Linked DNA regions of Homo sapiens: regions 2 and 3 are each linked to region 1. Evidence: promoter capture Hi-C in 16 types of primary human blood cells and fetal thymus (Javierre and others, 2016). All regions are on one chromosome and are shown on one strand. The core of a region is centred on a gene start or on the middle of the fragment in contact, and the rest is flanking DNA. Distances in the headings are between cores, read along the strand shown. Region 1 holds the start of ATF7IP (activating transcription factor 7 interacting protein). Region 2 holds the start of LOC105369672 (a long non-coding RNA gene). Region 3 overlaps PTPRO (protein tyrosine phosphatase receptor type O).

Region 1 (4,419 bases), core at 1,442-3,941:
TATTATAATAAAGTATCATGCAACCATTTAAAGACATATTTTAGAAGAATAATGAAATGGGAAAATACTCATAACATTAAAAGAGTAGAAATGAAATTATGGTACCAATGAAAAACTAATTAATAAACATTTATAGATTGCTCAATCATGGAAAAGTGAAGTCACAAATCACCAATACCTTTAGAGTGGTTATTTCTAAGCATTGTTAATTAATTTTCAATATTTTCCAAATGTTCTATAATGAATAAGTTTAAAAATATTTAAATACATTTATCACATATGCAAAACCTAATTTAAAGAAAAAATAGTTCTAATTGTTTAATAACTCAAACCTGTCTTTTCTAAACTACATATAAATTTTTAAATTTACAAAACTACAAAGATTTTAAATAACTTCAGTAACTTGGTATTCATTCCTGGAGTAACCTAGTCTTAATATTTATATATGTTGGATATGTGTCAAAATTTTGTGGCATCATAACCACCAAACTAAAATTTTAAAATATACTTGTTATTGACAAAGTACTAATAAACAAATAGTTGGTGTTCAGGCAATTAATTAATCTTATTAAGTTTACATGATTATATCTGCCTTGTAAGAAACATGACAGCAAAATCGTCCCATCAATAAATATGTTCTTCATATTCAAGAGCATTTTCAAATACCTCTTACTACCTTCAATATTAACCTAAAAAGCAATCATCTGTATATTCAAATGAAAACATACGCTTATATACACCAAACTATTTCATTTTTCTGGAAATGTAAAGTGTACCATGCCCTAAGATCAAAGATCAAAGTTCTTTTGTTAACCGAAATATTTATGTGTATGTTCAACTCGAAAATGCCTGAAATAGCATGTGGTAGAAAGGGGCTGCTAGGTAACCACTCCAGAAACATAAAAGGGAGAAAATTACACAACTGCTCTCTAAATATACTTCTGTGTAGAAGACCTCAGAGATCCAAGAATTACATCAGGTCAAATATTCTCTTGAGAAAAAAAGAAGAATCTTTCCTACCTCCATTCTATCTCATATGTGACGTCATTTAAAAATCCACCAACCAAAAGTATTACTTTCAATTACATCTAGGTAATATTTACTAATGGTATTTGTTTTAGGCAATAAAAATTTCCCTAAATTAACCGAGATTATAAAGCAAGAGGCACGTCTTCATTTGACAGTAGACTGATTCAAACTTAAAGAGTTATAACCAACCAAGAAACCAGTTGTTGTATATATGAACCACAAATGAAGTCTATGGAAAACATTTGCAAGTTTCTTTGCTTAGTAAGAAAGAATTTGCACAACGGGAGAATCATATCAAATCTTATATAACTTCCCCCAATTGTGTTACATAAGATTTAACTATAGTTGACACTACCATTTTAAACTAATCAGTAGCATATTTATAATTACCTTCCCTAAAAAACTATTAATAAAACCAGGAGCACACTTACAATTAAAAAATCAAACACAACTGTATCTTACACACATGCATACAGTACAGTGTTTAAAAGAAAAAAACAGATTTTTTTTATTAATGGTCCACTTTCTTCAAAGAGGCCTCAGGGTAATGGATGTTCTTTCTAGAATTCTTCATCAGAAAAATTTACCAAATAAATGTTATAGCTTACATATCATAGCAAACAAAAATGCTAAGAAAATGAGTTGATTAATTTCAAAAGTAACAATAATCTAGCTGAAGCAGTAATGAACAAGTCACCTAAGAAACTTAAAACATGTAAAATTCAAATGCCCAGAAACATACAAACTGATTAAAATTAAAACTTTATTTACTTAGGATCAAACATTTAAAACCAAAATAATCCTCAGATTGAGATTTCATTTTCGATTATACTGTAATTTCTTCCACTATTCCCGTTCCCCCAATATTCCCAAAACTAAAATTGTTTCTGTTTTGTAAACATTCCACACATCCATAACAGAACAGGTAAAAATAGGGTTAAAAATGTATTTGCAAATATGCAGTTCAAATAAATGCACTTCCCGTGAGAACACCACTAGGTGCTGATCTTTACCACCGTAAATATAAACCTGAATCCAGTAATACTTTAAAACTGAAATTATAATCAAGAACCACAAATGAAAATCATTTTTACAGAAAATTAAGTCCACAATTTTTCAAAAAATCGAAAAAACAGAGAAGAGCTTGAGGTCGGCCCAGGAGTACAACATTAGAGTAATGTTTTTCTTGAAAATTGTGAGAATTTAAGGTTAACACAAAGAAACCCCTCAAGAACGAGGAAAATTAAATCTAGAACCCAAATGGCGTCCAACAAGAACATTAGATCTTGAAAATGAATATTGCGCTTGCGCAGCCACCGCCCCGCCAGCTGCACAACTGCAGCTAGAGCCCGACCCCGCAAGATCACGTGCTCCCATGCAGCGCCGCCCGCAGCTCCGCAACCGCGCAGGCGCAGACACAACTCCCGCAGCCGCCATAATGCGGTCTTGACTCTTCAGAAATACAATAGTAATTTAAGAAAATGTGGTTTTAACAGCCCCTGGGATTCACATATACCTTTTGGGGCGGAAGCTGAGGGAGGGGGAACCAAGTTCCTTCCTACAGAGCCGTCCCGCGCAGCCGTCCCCGACGTTGCCGCCTCAGCTTTTCGCGCGCTTCAGTCGCCGCGCCGCCGCTGCCACCGCCGCCGCCTCCGCAGATTCAAAAACAAACCCGCTTCTCCCTTGCACGCGCCGGGGCCGTTATGCAAATTAATATGGGCGGGGCTCCGGGGGGTCGTGCTATGTACCCCGCCCACTGTGCTATCAGCCAATAAGCTCAAGGACTAGCCATTCCCCATGCAAATTCTGGTTTTTTATTTGAATGAGGGACATTGGCCCCGCCTCCTGCGTGGAAAAGAGAAGGAAGCCCGAGGTGGTGGCGCTGCGTCTCTCAGTTGCAGTGTGAGGTGTGTTTTTTGAGTGGATCTTCCTCAATCAATAAGTAGCACTTTGTGAGCGCCCTCTATGAGGCTTAGAAAAGAAAGAAGGAAGGAGGTAGGTGAGAGTTTAAAGAGCAGAGGGAAAGATTTTCATAAAAGCCAGGAGTATGTTGATTTATTCATCATTTATGTTTTAAATTCACAGAATGTACTTTGAATTGTATTAATAATGAAGGAATGAAAAAAACATACTTTCTTTCAGTTGCTTGGTAACAGAGCAAGCACTTTTTATCATACTCTCTCACCAGAAGTTGTATTCATCCCATTTATTCAATTTCATGCTGGGAGTCGGCCTTTAATGAATTCCACAGGAGGTAGTGGACAAGTCACTGCCTTACTGGTTAAGAGATCTGGGTTCAAGTTCAACTACTGCAGCTTCCTTGCCGGTTCCTCGGAATAAGTGTGTTACTCAGTTTTCTCACCTGTATAATGGCAATCATGACTATAGTTGAACTAGGTTGGAAGCACTAAATGATAGAATAAATGTACATATGTTTTGGCCAGGTGCCGTGGCTCAGGCCTGTAATCCCAGCACTTTGGAAGTCTGAGGGGGGGTGGATCACCTGAGGTCAGGAGATCAAGACCAGCCTGGCCAACATAGTGAAACCCCGTCTCTACTAAAATTACAAAAATTAGCTAGGCATGGTGGTGCGTGCCTGTAATCCCAACTACTCAGGAGGCTGAGGCAGGAGAGTTGCTTGAACTGGGACCTGGGAGGCCGAGATTGCAGTGAGCGAAGATCTCACCACTGCACTCCAGCCTGGGCTACAGAGCAAGACCCCTTATCAAAAAAAAAAAAAAAAAAAAAGAATAAAAGTACATATGTTTTGCAAGGCAAGAATAGCCTGAAAATAATATTAGATGGTACCGTGTGGTTATTGTTTTTTTATGTAACTTCTCATTATATGAATGTATTGGTTCAGTATTTATTTAGCAATCACTGTGTTGTAGATCTGTTAGGTGCCTGTCCTCAAGAAATCTGTACTCTAGTGAAGAAGACAGAAAACTGAACAAGAAATTTTTGTAACTAATAAGAAATTAGAATAGGGTTGTTAATACTTATTTTTATAACTGGAACCATTCAATTTACTTAAAATATAAGGTGGCCTTTAGAAATATCACCTAGGGCCGGGTGCAGTGGCTCACGCCTGTAATCCCAGCACTTTGGGAGGCCGAGGCGGGCAGACCATGAGGTCAGGAGATCGAGACCATCCTGGGTAACATGGTGAAACCCCGCCTCTACTAAAAATACAAAAAAAAAAAAATTAGCTAGTCGTGGTGGCACGCGCCTGTAGTCCTAGCTACTCGGGAGGCTGAAGCAGGAGAATCACTTGAACCCGGGAGGCAGAGGTTGCAGTGAGCCAAGATCACGCCACTGCACTCCAGCCTGGGCAACAGAGTGAGACTCCATCTCGAAGAAAAAAAAAAGAAATATCACCTAATCCAGACC
Region 2 (4,689 bases), core at 1,942-4,441, 1.2 Mb before region 1:
AAACTCTCCTAGATGAACTGAGCATTTTCCATCTTTAGCAAAAATTCTTTGTAGGGTTTTGTTTATGGCATTTTGATTTCCTCCCTACAATGATAGTGGATCAAGTGGATTGTTTACTTCCTCCAAAATCTTTCTCTTATATTGTGATGCCCGTATTATTCATCACTGGAGATTAGAATAAAAGAGTGGAATGTATTGAAATAGGCAAGCTTCTGGTGTGCCTACTGTCCGGAATGTGGCCTATTAATCTGCTAGTAAAAACACTGTTGAAGTTTTTTTTTTTTTTCCAGAAGTAGAGAAAAAGTAAACATATTCTCATGCCTTCTCTATCTTTTGGCTAATTTCATGCATGAATAACAGCTCATTGGGGCTCATGTATCTCATTTTTTCTTTATACGGAATTAATGGATTTAATACTCAGAACTGAAGCAGAGATTTTAACATTACTGGCACAATGTGCTAATTACTTGAATTATCTACCTGTTCTTATTAAGGTGTTCCAAGAACAATTTTCTTCTTTTGAAAAATACACTAATATAATATCATAGTGTATTATAATTTACACATCATTAATGAATTTTCCTATGTCAATTTCCTATATATGGGATTTATTTTACCTGTAACTCAAGGGTTTTAATCTGGAGTTCCAAAGATAGAATTTAGGACTCTATGAACATATGTGGGAAAAGGGTACATATTTATTTTCACAACCTGTGACTAAACTTAGCAGTCCTTTCTATCATTAAAGTAGGTACCAAACCATCAGAATATCCACATGGATGATTTGCTAACAATAGAGATTACATATTTTTTAATAATAGACTTGCTGCAGATATCTTGAAATATTGGTCATATGCATCACCATGATGAAATTGTTAGACTATTACATATTGACATTGAATATACTAATTAAAAAGTGTACAACACATTTGCTTTTTAAATATTATGATTATCATATTTCAATATAGTTGTATAATCCTATGTATTTTATTTTAGGCACAGAAAATGGAAGCATTATTCTTAGAAGAGTTCACCAGACTGCCAAAAAGGATCATAGCATGAAAAATGATGAGAATCTATGCTTTAATAACTAGCTGAAAGAATCAGAACCACCTCTCCTAAATATCTTTGGTATGTACCACAAAAAATGCTCAGAAATACCACTACTTGCATTACATCTATTACCACCTCCTCCACCATTACTATTATGAGCTAACATTTACTGCACACTTCCTATGAGTTGAGTATTACGCTATGTTATTACTGCGTTAATGCTCCTAAGTATCCACTAATATAGGGGCAATTATCATCTCTTCTGCATACACATTGTTCCCCTAGCTTCCAGGCCACCACACTCCCTTAGTTGTCCTTATACTTCACTGGCTGCCTCTTTGTCAGTCGCTTACTGTTATCTTCTTTTCTCCCTGAAAACCTTAATATTGATTGTTCCAGTGATTAATGCAGGGCCTTCTTTTACATTTACTCCCTGAATTTCATCCAGTCTAAAGCTCTAACGCAATTTATATGTTAACAACTCTCAATTTTTTTTTTCCTGAGACGGAGTTTCACTCAGTCGTCGCCCAGGCTGGAGTGCAGTGGCACGATCTCAGCTCACTGCAACCTCCGCCCCCCAAGTCCAAGCGATTCTTCTGCCTCAGTCTCCTGAGTAGCTGGGATTACAGGCACCCGCCACCACGCCTGGCTAATTTTTTTGTATTTTTAGTAGAGACGGGGTTTCACCATGTTGGCCAGGCTGGTCTCAAACTCCTGACCTCAAGTGAGCTGCCTGCCTCCCAAAGTGCCGGGATTACAAGCATGAGCCACTGTGCAGAACCAACAACTCTCAAATTTATATCTTCAACCAAAAATTCTCTTTCAAACATTAGACTTTTATGTCCAGGTGGCTACTCTGCACCTGCACTTGCAAGTTATCTCAAACTTAACATTTCTGTGATGGTTAATACTGAGGGTCAACTTGATTGGATTGAAGGACACAAAGTATTGATCCTGGGTGTGTCTGTGAAGGTGTTGCCAAAGGAGATTAACATATGAGTCAGTGGGCTGGGAAAGGCAGACCCACCCTTAATTGGGTGGGCACAATCTAACCAGCTGCCAGTGAATATAAAGCAGGCAGAAAAATGTGAAAAGGAGAGACTGGCCTCGCCTCCCAGCCTACATCTTTCTCCTGTGCTGGACGCTTCCTGCCCTTCAACATTGGACTCCAAGTTCTTCAGTTTTGAGATTCAGACTGGCTCTCCTTTCTCCTCAAGCTTGCAGACAGCCTACTGTGGGGCCTTGTGATCGTGGAAGTTAATACTTAATAAACTCCCATATACCTATATCTATGTATAATATATAATAGGAGATATATATATATATACACACACACACTATATCTATATATAATATCTAATAGGATATATATATACTACTATGTACTATTAGTTTTGACCCTCTAGAGAACTCTGACTAATACAATTTCCAAAACTGAAGTCTTGATGTTCCCCCAACTCTGACCTGGAATCCTCTCTCAGTTGATGGCAGCTCCATCCTTTCAAGTGCTTGGGCCAAAAACCCAGGAGTTAGCCTCAACTCTCTTTTTTTGTTTATTTGTTTTTTGAGATGGAGTTTCACTCTTGTTGCCCAGGCTGGAGTGCAATGGCGCAATCTCGGCTCATCGCAACCTCTGCCTCCTGTCTCAGCCTCCTGAGTAGCTGGGATTACAGGCATGTGCCACCACGCCCAGCTAATTTTGTATTTTCAGTAGAGACAGGGTTTCTTCATGTTTGTCAGGCTGGTCTCGAACTCCCGACTTCAGGTGATCCACCTGGCTCAGCCTCCCAAAGTGCTGGGATTATAGCCTCAACTCCTTTTTTCATTTCCATTCCATATCAACTTATTAGCAAATCCTGTTGCTCCTATTTTCAAAATATGTCCAGAATCTGATGGCTTCTCTCTGCCTTCAGTGTTGCTGCTCTGGACTGAACTATTAGCATCTCTTGCCTGGATTCCTGGCTACCACAGTTGATATGCCTGTCTCTGTCCTTGCCTCAATACAGCCTGTTTTCTACATAAAAGTCAAAATGAAAGTGTTAAATCTAAGTCAGATGCTGTTAATCTTCTGCTCCAGAGCCTGCAATGCCTGCTCATTTTACTGAGTAAAAGCCAAAGTCCTTCCAAAGGCATACGAAGCCCTGCATAACTTGACATCTCCTTCTACTCTTGTCTTCCTCCGCTTTAGTCACAACGGCCCCTCTGCTACACTTTGAACATCCCAGTCGTGCTCCTACCCCAGGGCCTTTACACCAGCTGTTCTTGCCACTGGGCACACTCTTCCCACAGATAACACAGGCTACCTCCCTCATGTGCTTCAAGTCTCTGCTCCAATGCCATTATTTCAGTGAAGCCTACCCACCTCCTAGGACCCCTAACACCACACTGGTACTGCTTATCTCCCTTACCTGACCTTGTTTCCTTTCCTTATCACCTGCTAACTTAAGGGGCAGTCCTTTTACTTATATCTTTATTGTTTATTGTCTATTTCTCCCACTAGAATATGAGCTCCATGAAGGCACATATTTTTGTCTGTTTCATATACTGTCATATATGTAGCAATATTTGTAATATGAACGCATGAAGTTTCAGTGACCTACACAAATTCACGCAAGTTGGAAGTCAAGATTCGATCTCAAGGAGGCCGAGCATGGTGACTCACGCCTATAGTCCCAGCACTTTGGGAGGCTGAGGTGGGCAGATTACTTAAGGTCAGGAGTTCGAGACAAGCCTGGCCAACATGGTGAAACCCTGTGTCTACTAAAAATACAAAAATTAACTAGGCCTAGTGGTGCGTGCCTGTAATCCCAGCTATTCAGGAGACTGAGGCAGAAGAATCGCTTGAACCTGAGAAGCAGAGCTTGCAGTGAACCAAGATGGCACCATTGCACTCCAGCCTGGGCGACAGAGTGAGACTCTGTCTCAAAAAAAAAAAAAAAAAAAAAAGATTTGACCTCAAGGAGTGTAATTTCAGAGCTCTCCACTGTAGTTACAGTGCAATCCCACATCTCTTCTTATCCTTTTAAGATTATTCAAATGCCAACCTTCAAGAAGCTTATTTTCACATTCAGAATTAGTCTTTATTCTCTAGTTTCATGGCATCCTGTTTTTAATCCCCTTTATGCTACATGTCAGCTTATGCCTTTAAATATATCTATCTATTCATATATCCAGTTAGGTAAGTAAGCTCCTAGTGGACAGCTTTGATGTCTGATTTTTCTTTGGATATGCCATGTCAGGCACTGATTAGATCACTATTGGATAGATGAATTTATTTATAAATATGTGAGTGATAGAACTCTGAGACAGGAGAAGAATGTTAATTTATAATTCAGCAGGTTAATATTGGGCAAATATAAATGTTAACAAAATTTCCCAAACCAAGTAGTATTCAAATAAGCAACAGTTTTTAAGGGAATTGATAGATTATTCTGATAATACAGGGGGCCACAGAAACTACTTGAGAATGTGCTCTGATGAGCAATGCATCAGTGGTCAAAGGAACAGGGAAGAGCTGAAATCATAAATCAAAGGCTTTTCTAATTGCAAGAAAAACTAAGCTGGCTGCAACTCTGAGTAATAGGAATAAAACTAATAGAGACTGCTAATGGACCTAATCATAAACTGTACAAATAT
Region 3 (4,372 bases), core at 107-2,606, 1.2 Mb before region 1:
TGGGCACCATGACACAGGCTCGTCCATCAAAATCCTCCCCTGTTAATTTTCAAACTACAAACAAGAAAGACAGACAGTAATTCCCTTTGGAAACCATGGAAACAAAAGGCTGTGGTGCTCAAGGGTTGTTGTTGGCTGCTTTTCACTATGAAAAAGAGGTTGGGCTGGGCATCGTGGCTCACGGCTGTAATCCCAGCACTTTGGGAGGCTGAGGCAGCTAGATCACAAGGTAAGGAGTTCGAGACCAGACTAGTCAATATGGTGAAACCCTGTCTCTACTAAAAATACAAAAGTTAGCCGGGCATGGTGGTGGGCAACTGTAGTCCCAGCTACTCAGGAGGCTGAGGCAGGAGAATCACTTGAACCTGGGAGGCGGAGGTTGCAGTGAGCCAAGATCGCGCCACTGCTCTCTAGCCTGGGCAACAGAGTGAGACTGTCTCAAAAAACAAAACAAAACAAAACAAAAGTGACAGAAAAAGAGGTTGTTTGTTGTTTCACTGAACACAAACATCTGCCCTCTCTGGCTGCGTTTCTCTTTGTTTCTCTTTGTTCAGTGAAACAAAGTGAAACCAAAACAGAGAGAGAAGCAGAAATGAGAAATAGAGGGGCCCCTGGCTCCAGTCATCCCTGAAACTGTGCTGCTTCCCTGCACGTAGTCTAGCTACTCAACCTTTTCTTTGATTGTATGAGATACCTTAGTATCCTTTGAATAAACCCCCTTTCCTTTAGTTTAAACAAGTTTGAGCTATGTTTTTGTCACTCACAACTAAAAGAATATGTTTACTGGAAAATGACTTGTTGAATTTTTTTTCATGCAATTCAGAAACAGTAATAGTTATGCTTGGGTTTCAAGACATAAACTGTGAGTTGCCAGCAGAGGTTATGATCCAGCTGTGCCACCAAGGGCATGCCATCTTGAAGGAATTAAGAAAATGTGGCTTTAATAAGGTAAAAGTGTAGCTATACCATAATTTCTATCATCGTTAGAATCATCTAGCTATTTATTTTTTCAGAGTTTTGCCTCATGTTTGCTTAGAAAAAAAGTCCTCCTTTCCTTGATATACTTTCTGAAATGCCATCCTCCTCATTCATTTCCAATTCAAATTGAATTTCTTTGAGTATAGCATTTGGTGTAGCATCTATAATATCCTATGCACCTGGATACAATGGATAAGTGAGCAGGCTCTGTGTGGAATTTTTCAGGACACAGGTGGTAGTTAGCGGTCTTTGTATTTGGTAATGTATAAGATTCTTCTCATCCTCAAATTCCCCATTAGTGTCTCCACACCAGGACCACTGATGCTTTTTGCAGACTAAAGCTGTCCTTGGCTGAGAAGTGGAAAGGAGAAATGATTTTAAAAACTGAAGAAAAAGCAGCTACCTTAATAGAAAAGAGCACTTAAAAGGCTTTATAAAAAAAAAAAACTACAGAATTTAGAAAAATCACTTTATCTTCCCCTTTTCCCTGAATCACTGACCACTCAAGCCATGCTATAGAAACCTGAAGGATGGGGGGCCATTTAGACTGTGTTATGAGCTATAAAATATGTAGAAAGAAAAAGTGAGAACTAATTATCTTCCCCCACACTGCTGAGATATTAGACTCACTCACTTCCATCTCTTCTGACATATGGTTTTAGATCCAAAGAAATATGTGTCCTTCGGAAAAAAAGAGATGTTGTCAATTTTTTTCTTAACACAAATCATGTGTAACTTTATCTCCCCAATTTGTCCAAGGAAAGAAAATAAAACTGCACAAAAGTTATTAAGTAGAATGCCAGGAGTCCTATAGCTTGAAAAGCCCTACTCCAGGATGTTATGTGCCCAGGACACAAAGGGGGTCAGTTTTATCCACTATCCGCCACTACTGTGGCCTAAGAAGCATGAGAAACACTACAAATCCCCTGAAAGGGAAATTCTGTCTCAGGCTTCATGCCTCAGCTTGCATTTTTCTTCTTGTACTCTCGATTTCCCTGGTTTTCAATGATGGCTTCTACTATACCCATGTTTGCTCACCTCAGTACCTGCACCTATTCTCTTCTTCCCCTCATCTCATTTGTGCCACCTGAGGCCTTGCCTACTAAGCAAGGATTGACAACCCTTGCTCTAAACCAGCAGATCAGCAATCCCCAGGCCAATACCCTTTTTGTTACGCACTGCCAGTGAGCAGGGACATGACCGCAACACAAACCCCCCAATTCCCAGGCCCTTTCCATTACAGAAGGTAGAAAATGCCTTAACCAACTCACCTCAAACTGAAGAGAAAATTTATAGTCAGAGTCTTTGGCCATATCCTTAATATAGGCATCAAAGTCATCCAGTTGAACCGGGCTTTGCCAAACACAAAGAAATATACATACATTTTAAAATTCTTGTTGATAGGTATTATATATTGTTTAATATCATACTTCTTAATCTTCTTGGAGAAAATAGAAGTTTTACTTCTCTAAGGTTAGCACTCACCTTTTTTTTTTGGTTCAAGTTACCAATCCTTAATATATTGCAATTGAAAAGAAGGGCATATATATCCAGCTTCCTTGATAGGAGAAATCTCTAGATTTCCACTTGGCTCTTACTGTAGCAGTACAGTAGTATATATATGCATACTCGTATACACACACCCCCATCTGTGTTGCTTCTAAAAAACTCTGGCATATGGAAAATAACAAAGGAATGGATTCCAAAGACCTGTTTGAGTTATGGTTTTGCTTTATTGACTGTGTTATCCTAGAGAATCGCCTAACTCTTCAGAGTCAATGTTCTCATCCATAAAATACAGTAGTTACAGCTACAGGGTTGACATACAGTACATAAAGAACTTTGTAAGTTTCAACAGCTTTACAAGTATAAGGAATTGTGCTGCTAGCTACAGTCTCCCCAAAGCAGAGGCAGGATCAGTGGGATGAAACTTTTGTCCAGAAAGCTCCCAGGGTCTCACTGGAGTGAGTTATCTTTAGAGGCTTGCATATCTATAAAAGTATGGAAATGGCTCAGAGGTTCAATCAAGTAACACATCTGAGCTATGTTTCTGCATCCGCAGCAGAAGTTCTCACTTTTTTTTGAGAATAAGAATCAAGTTTTATCTCCTGTAGTTTTCTGTAGCTGCTTATCTCCTCTAGAGCCTACCTAAACCAATTTGCTCTCTAAAGTAGCTCTCTGCTTCTGCAGAATTCCACATTCTGTCATCTAACTCAAGCCTTTCCACTTTGGCAGGGTCTTTATAGTTGACCCTTCCCTTGGTCTTGTGGTGTGTTACTCAGCTTATATCATCTAACTGTGGTCTTTTTTGTTTTGTTTTGTTTTGTTTTGTTTTGTTTTGAGACAGAGTCTCACTCTGTCACCCAGACTGGAGTGTAGTGGCACTATTTCGGCTCACTGCAACTTCTGCCTCCTAGGTTCAAGCGATTCTCCTGCCTCAGCCTCCCAAGTAGCTGGGACTACAGGCAGGTGCCACCACACCTGGCTAATTTTTGTATTTTTAGTAGAGATTTGGTTTCACCATGTTGTCCAAGGTGGTCTTGAAATCCTGACCTCAAGTGATCCACCTGCCTCAGCCTCCCAAAGTGCTGGGATTACAGGTGTGAGCCACTGCACCTGGCCTAACTGTGGTCTTATGTCCAATTAGAAAATACATAGTATTTAATAATGCTCATTTAAAGTTGTTGATTAGCTAATCTGATTAATTCATTTATGTTAACATTTTAGTAAATTTTAGAGGGCGTTATATCTTCCAGAGAATACCTTTAAACTGAAATGTTTTTACTTAATAACAATAACTCATTTATAAAACACGCTACACTTCATAAATAGTCACATGCATTATCTTGCTTAATTGATCCCTGAGGTAGGAATAGACAACATTAGCTCCATGCTCCAGCTGAGAGAGCCACGGCTAAGAGAGTTAAGTGAGTAGCCCAACATCACATGTCTACTAAGCAGTAGAATTCTCACTGGAATCCAGGGAGAGTAAGTCCTGGTTCAAAGCTTTTCCCACTTCAAACTTGTTATCCTTCCAAAAGAATGGGCTAAAGTTGGGACTCCTCTCCTGGAATGAACCCCCTTAGAACTGCACTCTCTGGCTGGTGTCTTTGGGCAGTGTATCGACCTTAAAGTTGGATTTAACAACTCTAGCTTTCATCTTGTTACTAGGAAAATGGGCACATGTATACAGAAGGCAAACCAGACAAAGTATTAATGGGTTAAAAGAAGTAAAAGCAAGAAGCAGAGGGAAAAGAGAGAGAGAGGAAGGAATAGCAAACAGAAGAATGGACATAAGGGAGAAGGAGAATGACAAGGAGAAGAAAAAGAAAGCTGGAAGGGAGTAGAGACCAAAAGGACAAATATCTACAGAGGAAAAAGAAAAAGAGGAGGT

The links. The method cuts DNA at HindIII sites, captures the fragments that hold promoters and counts their contacts. A CHiCAGO score of 5 or more calls a contact.
Region 2: a fragment that was not itself captured here is called in contact with the fragment with the promoter of ATF7IP in region 1 in 1 of 17 cell types (non-activated CD4 T cells); the score reaches 5.4 in non-activated CD4 T cells.
Region 3: a contact is called between a fragment that was not itself captured here and the fragment with the promoter of ATF7IP in region 1, in 1 of 17 cell types (non-activated CD4 T cells). The highest score is 5.4, in non-activated CD4 T cells.

The regions. Positions count from the first base shown.
Region 1 is chr12:14,363,954-14,368,372 of GRCh38, reverse strand. ATF7IP (activating transcription factor 7 interacting protein) reads right to left here and starts at 2,691. Exons shown (of 15, transcript NM_018179.5): 1 at 2,546-2,691. It overlaps LOC124902884 (a long non-coding RNA gene), which reads left to right and starts at 1,183. Exons shown (of 2, transcript XR_007063220.1): 1 at 1,183-3,024. RefSeq lists enhancers at 976-1,115, 2,472-2,531, 3,002-3,061, 2,293-3,110. The HindIII fragment of the contact is 10,385 bases long and covers 1-4,419 here.
Region 2 is chr12:15,552,106-15,556,794 of GRCh38, reverse strand. The region is part of intron 15 of PTPRO (protein tyrosine phosphatase receptor type O); the gene reads right to left. It overlaps LOC105369672 (a long non-coding RNA gene), which reads left to right and starts at 884. Exons shown (of 3, transcript XR_002957403.2): 1 at 884-1,131. The HindIII fragment of the contact is 1,837 bases long and covers 2,273-4,109 here.
Region 3 is chr12:15,567,376-15,571,747 of GRCh38, reverse strand. PTPRO (protein tyrosine phosphatase receptor type O) reads right to left here. Exons shown (of 27, transcript NM_030667.3): 19 at 2,250-2,331. Among named protein-coding and RNA genes, the nearest start is that of EPS8, 220 kb to the left of the region's middle. RefSeq lists an enhancer at 518-707. The HindIII fragment of the contact is 5,261 bases long and covers 1-3,986 here.